Regions from separate parts of the Homo sapiens genome. Here region 1 is linked to region 2. Evidence: promoter capture Hi-C in human tissues and cell types (Jung and others, 2019). All regions are on one chromosome and are shown on one strand. Each heading gives the region's core, a stretch centred on a gene start or on the middle of the fragment in contact. The rest is flanking DNA. Distances are from core to core; before and after follow the strand shown. Region 1 has its middle 42 kb from the start of FAM240B. Region 2 holds the start of FRMPD1 (FERM and PDZ domain containing 1).

Region 1 (4,675 bases), core at 949-3,448, 1.1 Mb after region 2:
GCCTCCCAAAGTGCTGGGATTACAGGCATGAGCCACCACACCCGGGCTGATCTTTATTATTTTTCTGTTTTTAATTTTATTGATTTCTGCTCTAATTTTTATTATTTTCATTGTCCTGGTTGCTTCAGGCTTAAATTACTCTTCCTTCTCTAGTCCCTATAGTAGATGCTTAGATTTAAAACAATTTTTTGGATCTTTCTTCTTTTCTGAACTATGCATTCAATGTATAATTTTTTCTCTAAAAACTGCTTTTACTGGATCTCACAAATTGTGATAAGTTGTATATTTTCATTTATTCAAAATATTTTTTGATTTCTCTTGAGATTTCTTCTTTGATCTTTGTGTTATTTAGAAGTGTGCTGTTTAATCTCTAAATATTTGAGGATTCCAGCTCTTTTTCTGTTATTGATTTCTAGTTACATGTCATCATGGCCTGAGAAAATACTTTGTATGATTTCTGGCCTCTTAAACTTGTTGAGGTCTGTTTTATAGACAATGGTCTTGGTGAATGTCCCATGTAAGCTTGAAAAGATTGTGTATTTTGCTGTTATTGAAGAGATTATTTTATAAATGTCAATTGGGTCAAATTTATTGATAATATTATTCAGGTCAACTATATTCTTATTGATTTTCTGTCTGCTGAATCTATCAATTACGGAATGAGGGGTGTTGAAACCTTTAACTCTAATAGTGGACTTGCCTGTTTCTTCTTGCAGTTCTATCATGTTTTGACTCCTGTATTTTGTACTTTGTTGTGAAGTGCATACATATTAAGCATTGTTATGCCTTCTTAGAGAACTGAATCATTTATCATTTTGCAATGTTCATCTTTAAACCTGATAATTTTCCTTTCTCTAAAGACTGCTTTGTCTGAAATTAATACAGCTACTCCAGTTGTCTTTTGATTAGTGTTATCATGGTATATCTTTCTCCACCTCTTTATTTTTACTTTACCTTAATATTTCACTTCCACTCTTCTCTTACTCCCATATTTCTGGCCAGAAGTTCACTGTAATTATTATCCTTGTACTTCTATGAGTCAGGTGTTTTTCCTCTGGCATCTTTCAATATTTTCTCTTTGTTTTGGTTTTCTGAAGTTTGAACATGATATACCTAGGCATAGGTTTTTTTTTTTTTTTAAATCCTGCTTGGTATTCTCTAAGCTTCCCAGATCTGTGATTTGGTGTCTGTCATTAATTTTGGAAAATGATCTATCTTTTTTCTCCATTATTTTAATTATGCTAGGTTATACCATTTGGAATCTTCTCACGGTTGCTGAATATTATTTTCTGTTTGTGTTTTTCATTCTTTTCTTCTCTTCATTTTAGTTTGGGGAGTTTTTATTGACATGTCTTCAAGATTTCTGATTCTATCCTTGGCCACATCTAGTCTATTGATGAGCCCATCAAAGGCAGTTTCACTTCGATTAGTGGTTATTTTATTTCTATAATTTCCTTTTTGATTGTTTCTTAGATTTTCCATCTCTGTGATTACATTACCCATCTTTTCTTGCATGTTGTCTACTTTTATCATCAGAGCCTATTATTTTAAATTCCCTGTCTAATAATTCCAAAACCTGTGTCATATCTGAGTCTGCTTCCGATGCTTGCTTTGTCTCTTCAGACTGTTTTTTCTTAACTTCTAGTAGCCCTATAATTTTTTGTTGAAAGCCACATTTGATATATTGGACAAAAGGAACCGAAGGAAAGAGGCCTGTAGTGTGAGGTTTTCTATTAATCTGGCTGAAAGCCGGCTGAGTTTAGTGCCTGCTGTAGCTGTAGCTAAGGCTTCAGATTTCTCTGGTGTCCTTGTTTTTCTCTCCTATTGTCTTTAGTTTTTCGTAAGAATTGTGCTTTGTGGCCTTTTCAGCTGTTTTCCACTATTATTGTGATGGAGCCCTGTTGATTAATGATAAGGTATAGGGGAGAGAAAGTGAGGGTAAGTGTTTATAATCTGAGGATCAAATCTTAGTTTTATGTAACTCCTGACCCTGGATGTGATCTTCACAAGTTTTGTGTGTCCCCCACTCCAACCCCTCACTCTTGATGAGACAGGAAATCTAAAGGGGGCTCAAGTGGGGGAAATGCCCTTCCTCCTAGGTGAGATAAGGCTCTGGTGACATCTTTTCTCCTGGAGACTAGGCTTTTGTTATGGAAAATGCTCTGGGCATATTTCAAAGCCACTACTTTTTCCCTCCCACTGACAGAGGCAGGAAGTGATGTTTCTTTGCTTTTTACTGTGAGAACCTGGTGGGGTTTCTGGAGGTAACACCCACAGAAGCAGTGAGGTCGTCTCAATGTTGTAGCCTTCAGGGTTTTCTTCCCCACACTCTGGTCCACAATCAGCCAACAGCAATTCATCACAATTACCGTTTTAGTATTCCTGCTAGTTTATGGCTCCAGTAGCCTCTGCTCTCGGGAAGCTGATCTCAGCTGTGATTTTGTCTGTCTCTCCAGATTCTGGGGTTATGGTCACTCTCTGTGACCTCAATTCTCTGATAAGTCCAAGAAAAGTAATTAATTTCTATTTTTCTCAGCTTTTTTCTTATTGTAAGGGCAGTAGTGACAACTTTTAAATTCCTTACATGTTGCAGCTAAAACCAGAAGTCTCAGAAGTCTCACTTTTTTAAAAAGGCTCTATTGCTGGCAATTAATTGTAACACCTTCAAAAAAAAACAAGTGTGCCATTTTATTTGGCCATGGACCCACTGCCACTAAAAACCAACATATTAGATAAGTAGCTAGTTCTGACTGATATAATTTAATCCCCTTTTAGAGCTTGCAGATTCTCTGCAGACACAGACCCATCGGAGAGATTCAATTCAATTTGCACATCTATTAGGCTGTTTGAAACAACGAGAATTCTGAAGCTGCCAAAACCCCACTTTCAATCTCCCCGCTGGACCTGCCTGGCATCTTTTCGTGGTGAGCCGTACACTGATGTGCTGTTTGGCAGACACTGTGCAAAGAGCTGCCCGGCTGTCTCCAGAGAGGGGCTGGGTGGGGCTGGGGCCTTCATTCCAATGTGCTTCAGCCACAGAGCTGTCGGCCCTCTTGCCTAACGAAATAGTAACTAGCCCTTGCCCTGTCTCAGAATCTAACATTACCTGCTTCTAATATAGAAAGATGTGATCTTTTAAAATTGTTGTTGCTGTTTTTGGTCTATTTTATTTTTGAAAATACTGTTTCGATATATGAAGCCCTTGTCAAGTTCACTTTAGCTAATTGTCATTTTGACGTACAAAATTTGAAGACTTTCTGTCATTTGAGACAGAGCAGGGATCCCTCTTGGGGTCTGCCGGGTCCCCCAAGCATGGAAATGAAGGAAATTCTTGAGTTCCTTCAAGGGAAAGTTGAGGCACCCAGCTAGTCCTGAGGAGTAGATGAGCAACTTGGTAAGCAAGAAAGTAATAGTGGCTTCAAACAATACCCAAGGAAGTTACAGCCACAAAATGTTTGGTGCCTTACAGAAACTAAAGAAAACATCTTAACCTGTGTCCCTGAGTAGTTTTTCAGAAACCTGGACCCCACCAAATGAAAAAGGCCATCCATGGCTCTTGGACCTCAGATAAGAGGGAACTGGGGACTGAACTCTGACTCTTCTTTGTTATAAATTTTTTCCTGAGGGGCCTGGTGGCCAGAGCTAACATTCTTTTCTACTGACCCCAGAGTTTTAGACAAAGCGTCACCTGTTAACCATCCACAGAGGAGAACATCTTTGCATCCACTTATGACCTGTGGCCCTCCCACCACCTGCTTGAAGATGACTTGGCTTTTGGGGTCCAAACCAATGTAGAGACTTCATGTATTGATTTACGACTTCGTCTGTAACTTCTGCCTCCCTATCTTTAAAAGCCCTTATTTTAAGCCATTGGGGAGTTCAGGTCTTAAACATGACCTGCCCAATTCTCCTTGCTTGGCCCCTGCAATAAATGCCTCACTTTCACTTTTTAAAAAAAATTTATTTATTTATTTATTTTTATTATTTATTTATTTATTTATTTTTTTTTTTGAGATGGAGTCTGGCTCTGTCGCCCAGGCTGGAGTGCAGTGGCGTGATCGCGGCTCACTGCAAGCTCCGCCTCCCGGGTTCATGCCATTCTCCTTCTTCAGCCTCCCGAGTAGCTGGGACTACAGGCGCCCACCACCATGTCCAGCTAATTTTTTTGTATTTTTAGTAGAGATGGGGTTTCACTGTGTTAGCCAGGATGGTCTCGATCTCCTGACCTCATGATCCAGCTGTCTTGGCCTCCCGAAGTGCTGGGATTACAGGCATGAGCCACTGTGCCTGGCCCTTTTTTTTTTTTTTTTTTTTCCGAGATGGAGTCTTGCTCTATAGCCAGGCTGGAGTGCAGTGGTGTGATCTCGGCTCACTGCAACCTCCGCCTCCCAGGTTCAAGTGATTCTCTTGCCTCAGCCTCCTGAGTAGCTGGGATTGCAGGCACCCGGCTAATTTTTGTATTTTTAGTGGAGGTGGGGGTTTCACCATGTTGGCCAGGCTGGTCTCGAACTCCTGACCTTGTGATCCACCCACCTCGGCCTCCCAAAGTGCTGGGATTATAGGCGTGAGCCGCTGTGCCCGGCCTAGCATACTTTATAAACTAGTCCCCAGACATTTCTAAATTACACGTAGTTACTTGAACAACATGTCCAGATTCTGCAGATACAGATGTCTG
Region 2 (4,496 bases), core at 1,667-4,166:
ATAATGATTAGAAGCATTCCTAATAGTGCTGGCTAGCAAGTAATGAATGCTGTTTCGTCTCCAGGAACTCTTATTTTTTAGAACACTCCTAGGTGGTAGGTATTCTTATTATGCTCCCTTTGCAAAGGAAAAAAACCAAGAACTGAGAGGTTATGGAACTTTTCCAAAATTACATAGGTTAAAAAGCAGCATTGGGATTTGAACCTAGGCAGTTTGGCTCAAGACTACATTTTTTTTTAACACTATGTTATGTGTCTCTTATTACATAAGGTACCCTAAGAACATAAGGTGTTTGGTGTGCAGGTGTGGGGTGAGGTAGAGATGGCGCCACACGGGTAATAGGATCACTGTGGATTCACGTGATGCTAAGGAGTTAAGACTTTGCTGCACGATCAAGAAGGAACAATGGAGGTGTCTTCAGCAGGAGAGTCACTGGTCAGGTCTGTGGTTGAAAAAGATCACTGGCAGTATGTGAAGGATGAAAATAGGAAAGACTGGAGGCGGTTACTACAGCCTTGGCAAGAAATGGTGAGGCTCCAACGAAAGCAAGGGCGGCAGGATGAGGGGGAGGAGACATGTGTAAGAGAAGTTAAGGAGACAGAGTTGATTGGACTTAGTGTCCAGTAGAGTATGAAGGCCAGGAAGAAGGAAGAGTCTAGACTGTCCCTTTGGTTTCTAGTTTAGGTGCCCAGAGGAAGGAAGTGCCACTACCAGTTGAGATAGGGAAGCAATGCAAAAGGGGTAATTTGGGGGTAAGATGTGGGTTTGGTTTTGGCTGTGTTGAGAGTGGGGCACCTGAGGGACATTTAGGCGATGTCCAGCAGGCAGTTGTGTCTCTGGGTTTGGAAGACAGAAGGTTTGGCTGAAACCATGCAGCTGATAGAATTGCCTGGTGAGAGTGAAGGGAGAAAGGCCAAGGAGGGACATGAGGGCAATGGTAAAGGAGGCTGAGGGGCAAGAGGGACCAGAATGAGAATCTGAGGAGAGCGGGGTTAGGGGCTGGGTCCGGCACCTAGAGAGGCTGACACTGACGCAGGTAGCTAGGAAATGGAGGGGGACAGGGCAAAATTCCATGGGGAACATTTGTACTCACCGGACAAGAGAATAGTTCTTATCTTACTTTCTGACAAGTGCTATGCTTTTTGGTGTTTAACTGCCTTGGAGAGAGTAATTTGATGATTAATCTTTATCTACAAAATAATTTTTAAAATTAAACTTTATTTTGAGAAAATTGTAGATTCACATGCAATTGTTAAGAAATAATTCAGAGAGCCAGAATACTTGATTTTTAAAAAGCTTTCATTATTTCCACTATGGCTTCAGAATCTTCCACCCTTATGGTGCTTCTGTCTCCTGGGGCAGAACTTTGTATACTACAAAGACGGGTGAGGAAAGCAAAAGGCTCACTCAGCCCGTGGATCTGGGTGGCAGAGGGCTGGGGCACTGACAGAAAAGGGAGCTTTGGGTGCAATTACGTAGGAGGTCTTTCAGCGATGGAGCCACTCAGGAGTTTCTGGATGGACTCCTGGATTTGGAAATGAAGGTCACAAAGGAGGAGCACCTGCCTTCATCCAGACGATGTTGGCTCCAAAGTGCTGCTAGTCTTCCCCCACCGCCCTTGGATGAAGGATGCACTTGTTAACATCTGCCTGTGCACCATCCCCAGAATGATCTAACATCCCAGTCTGATGGTGCCTCAACCCTACTCAGAACTCCTCCCATGAACCTGCCAGTGCACTGGGAACACGGTGCAAACTCCTTGACCAGGAATTGGCCCCTGCTGACTCCCCTGCTTTATGTCTCAACTCCTGCCACTCCCTCTGTGGGATCTCTCTCATCTTGGGGTCTTTGTTCCTGTGGTCTCAACCTGAAAGGCTCTCTCCACACTCCTCCCTTTCACTGGCCAATTCCACTGGCCTTTCAGGTTTCCATTTAGAGCATGCCCTCTCCAGGAGGCCTTCACTCAGTCAGTGCAGGCCTGAGTGGTGCCCTTGGCCCCGTGGGATTGGGTTATTGTTACAGGAACTGGACTGTATTTTAATAGTCCTAGACTGTACATTCCATGAGGACAGGGACTGCTTTATTAAAGGTGTATTGTATCTCCAGTGTCTAATGCAGGATATGGACCTCGTAGGTGTTCAGTAGAGTTCAGCACGGAAAATAGTGCACAGACACATGCATTTGGGTATCATGCTCAGAGAGGCGGTAGGACCAGAACCAGGGGAGTGGGTGAGACGGCTCAGGGGGTCAGAAAAGGGCTGAGTGCAGAGTCCCAGGGCGCTCCGGCATTTTAGAGCTTCTGGTTTGAGGAACCCTCAAGGAGACCGAGGGAGTGGCTGGAGAGGGCCGAGGAAAGCTAGGAGAACACAGTTTCCCAGCGCGGAAGGAGTTTACAGAGACAGGGGAGGTGGTCCACAGTGCCTACCGTGGGCCCACGCTCTCCCTCTCCCTTCAGCCGAACACCTGCGGGGCGTGGGGGTCAGGGGGCGAGTCCCCCAGGGCTCCCCGTAGCTGGGGCTCTTCCTGGGGAAAAGGAGGCGTGAGAAGGGGGTCGTTTTGGGAACTCTTCTGGGTTCCAGTTCTGGCCCAACCACCGCTGGTCCGGGTGACCTTGGGGAGTCCCTTTCCTCTCCCAGCCTCAGTCTCCCCCCTGGGTACTCAGCGGACGCTGCGTGCCCCGGCGGTGAGCTGAGGCAGGCGGCGGAGGCAGGGCCCGGGTGGGAGCGGGACCGCCCACTGCGGCGGGCCGGGACCTCGGAGCCAGCGGAGGCGGCGCGCGGGGCTCCTCCCCCGGGGCGGGGGTCGCGGCGCCGGCAGCTGGCGGCCGCGCAGCTGCAGCCTCAGCACCTGCCGCCGCCAGACGGCGCGGGCGCGGCCCGGCCCGGCCAACCCCTCCGGCTGCAGCCTCGGCGCGGGAGGCGGAGCCCGAGCCGAGCCCGAGCAGCGCTGCTTCCCGAGCCTTGGCCGCGACCGTGCCCGCCGCTGGGCGGGGCCGCCCTTCTCCGAGAGCGTCAGCCCGCTAGGTCCTTGTCCGCGCGGGCGGCACCTCCTCTGCAGGTAAGGGAGGGGTCCTGGCACCGCAAAGTTTTGGGGAGACGGCCTGTCCCCACACCCCGGGCCTGCGCCTCGGCTTCCTCCGCGCCGCCCTCCGCCTGCACCACCAGTCCCGGGTGACCCGCGCCCGCCTCCGGTCCTCGTGTCCCCAAGCCCGGCTCGGGGGCGCGTCCGTGGGCTAGCTCAGGACCTGCCATCGTGAACTGTTTGCACAGTAGCGATGTGTGCTTAAGTTTCCGAGATCTGCATGGTGTAGTGAGTGGAAACAGCGGCAACGCGGGAGGGGGAGAGACCTGGGTTCAGGTGCGGCCGCGGCCAGCGCCAACTTTCTGAGTGACCTCAGACCAACCCTCTCTGTCCGTCCTCGATGGCCACACCTGAACCAGAAGGGGTTCGCCAGGGACGATCAGCTGCAGTGCCAATGCCTGTGTTGTCATTTTTTGAGTAGAGGGGCATCCCTGAGTGTCTCAGCTCCAGAACTCATTGCGTGTGGAGAGGAATGAGCCACAGAAGTCAGTCTCCAGGGTCGCGTCGCTAACTTGCAGCAGCTTTGACTGAGCTTTAGTGGGGGCGTTGAGTCAGCCTCGGGAAGCAGGGGATGCCCCTAGGGTTAGGAGTCAGGACTCTGGCTTCTGGTGGCTCCTCTGCCATACACCCACTGTCTGTGTGACCTTGGGCAAGTGCCCCCTGCTTTTGCCACCTATAAAATAGGGTGGAAGTCGTGTTCACTAGTTGTTCGCTGTCTCTTTCAGCTGTAAACTCTGGAGAAGCGGAACCTCCGGATCTCTGCATTTAGTCAGTTTGGGTGGAGGCAATATTTCACCAAGAATCCATCTAGCACTTGCAAATGAACGTTTAGAAAATAAAGGAGGCATTTGCAGTTTGCTTTGGAAGTCCCAAAATAGACATGGGGAGGATTGGTGAACGCTCAGTTCGCCTTCTTCAGTGCTTTGGACCGTCATGAAATATTCAACGACATAATGATTTGTTTTCAAAGTGGCTTATAGATCAGGAAGCGTTTCTGTTTGTGAGTCGGTTATTTTTGTAAAAACCTCAGAATGGTTGTTTGGGAAAAAAAAATAATGCACTGTTCTAGGGGTCCTGACCTAGAGGCCAGCATCTACTTGTTTCTAGTCTAAGATGATGGTTGAGATGATTTCCAATCAAGACAATTTCGGGCATCCTTTGGTCGGTGTTGAGTATGGGTACGGTTAAGGAGCCAAGTTCATCTTTTCCAGGACTGGTGCATTCTGGCACAGTCACAGCAAAACAAGCACGAGGTAGTTAACTGTGATATGCTAGAAAGTGAAATTTATTCTTTTGCCCAATATCTTGTTCCCCTTGTGCTGCAATTAGTGGCTCCCCAGTGTGTGGGTGAAACGCATTACCACGAAAGGATTCTCACAGAAGTGATTTTATGATTTTATTTCCTTCCTCGACAT

Evidence for each region. The method cuts DNA at HindIII sites, captures the fragments that hold promoters and counts their contacts. A contact is called where the count stands out against the background at its distance.
Region 1: a fragment that was not itself captured here is called in contact with the fragment with the promoter of FRMPD1 in region 2 in 1 of the 25 tissues and cell types used here (dorsolateral prefrontal cortex).

Annotation. Positions count from the first base shown.
Region 1 is chr9:38,759,304-38,763,978 of GRCh38, forward strand. No RefSeq gene overlaps it. Among named protein-coding and RNA genes, the nearest start is that of FAM240B, 42 kb to the left of the region's middle. The HindIII fragment of the contact is 5,818 bases long and covers 1-4,675 here.
Region 2 is chr9:37,648,038-37,652,533 of GRCh38, forward strand. FRMPD1 (FERM and PDZ domain containing 1) reads left to right here and starts at 2,917. Exons shown (of 16, transcript NM_014907.3): 1 at 2,917-3,057. RefSeq lists a silencer at 2,789-3,058. The HindIII fragment of the contact is 8,171 bases long and covers 1-4,496 here.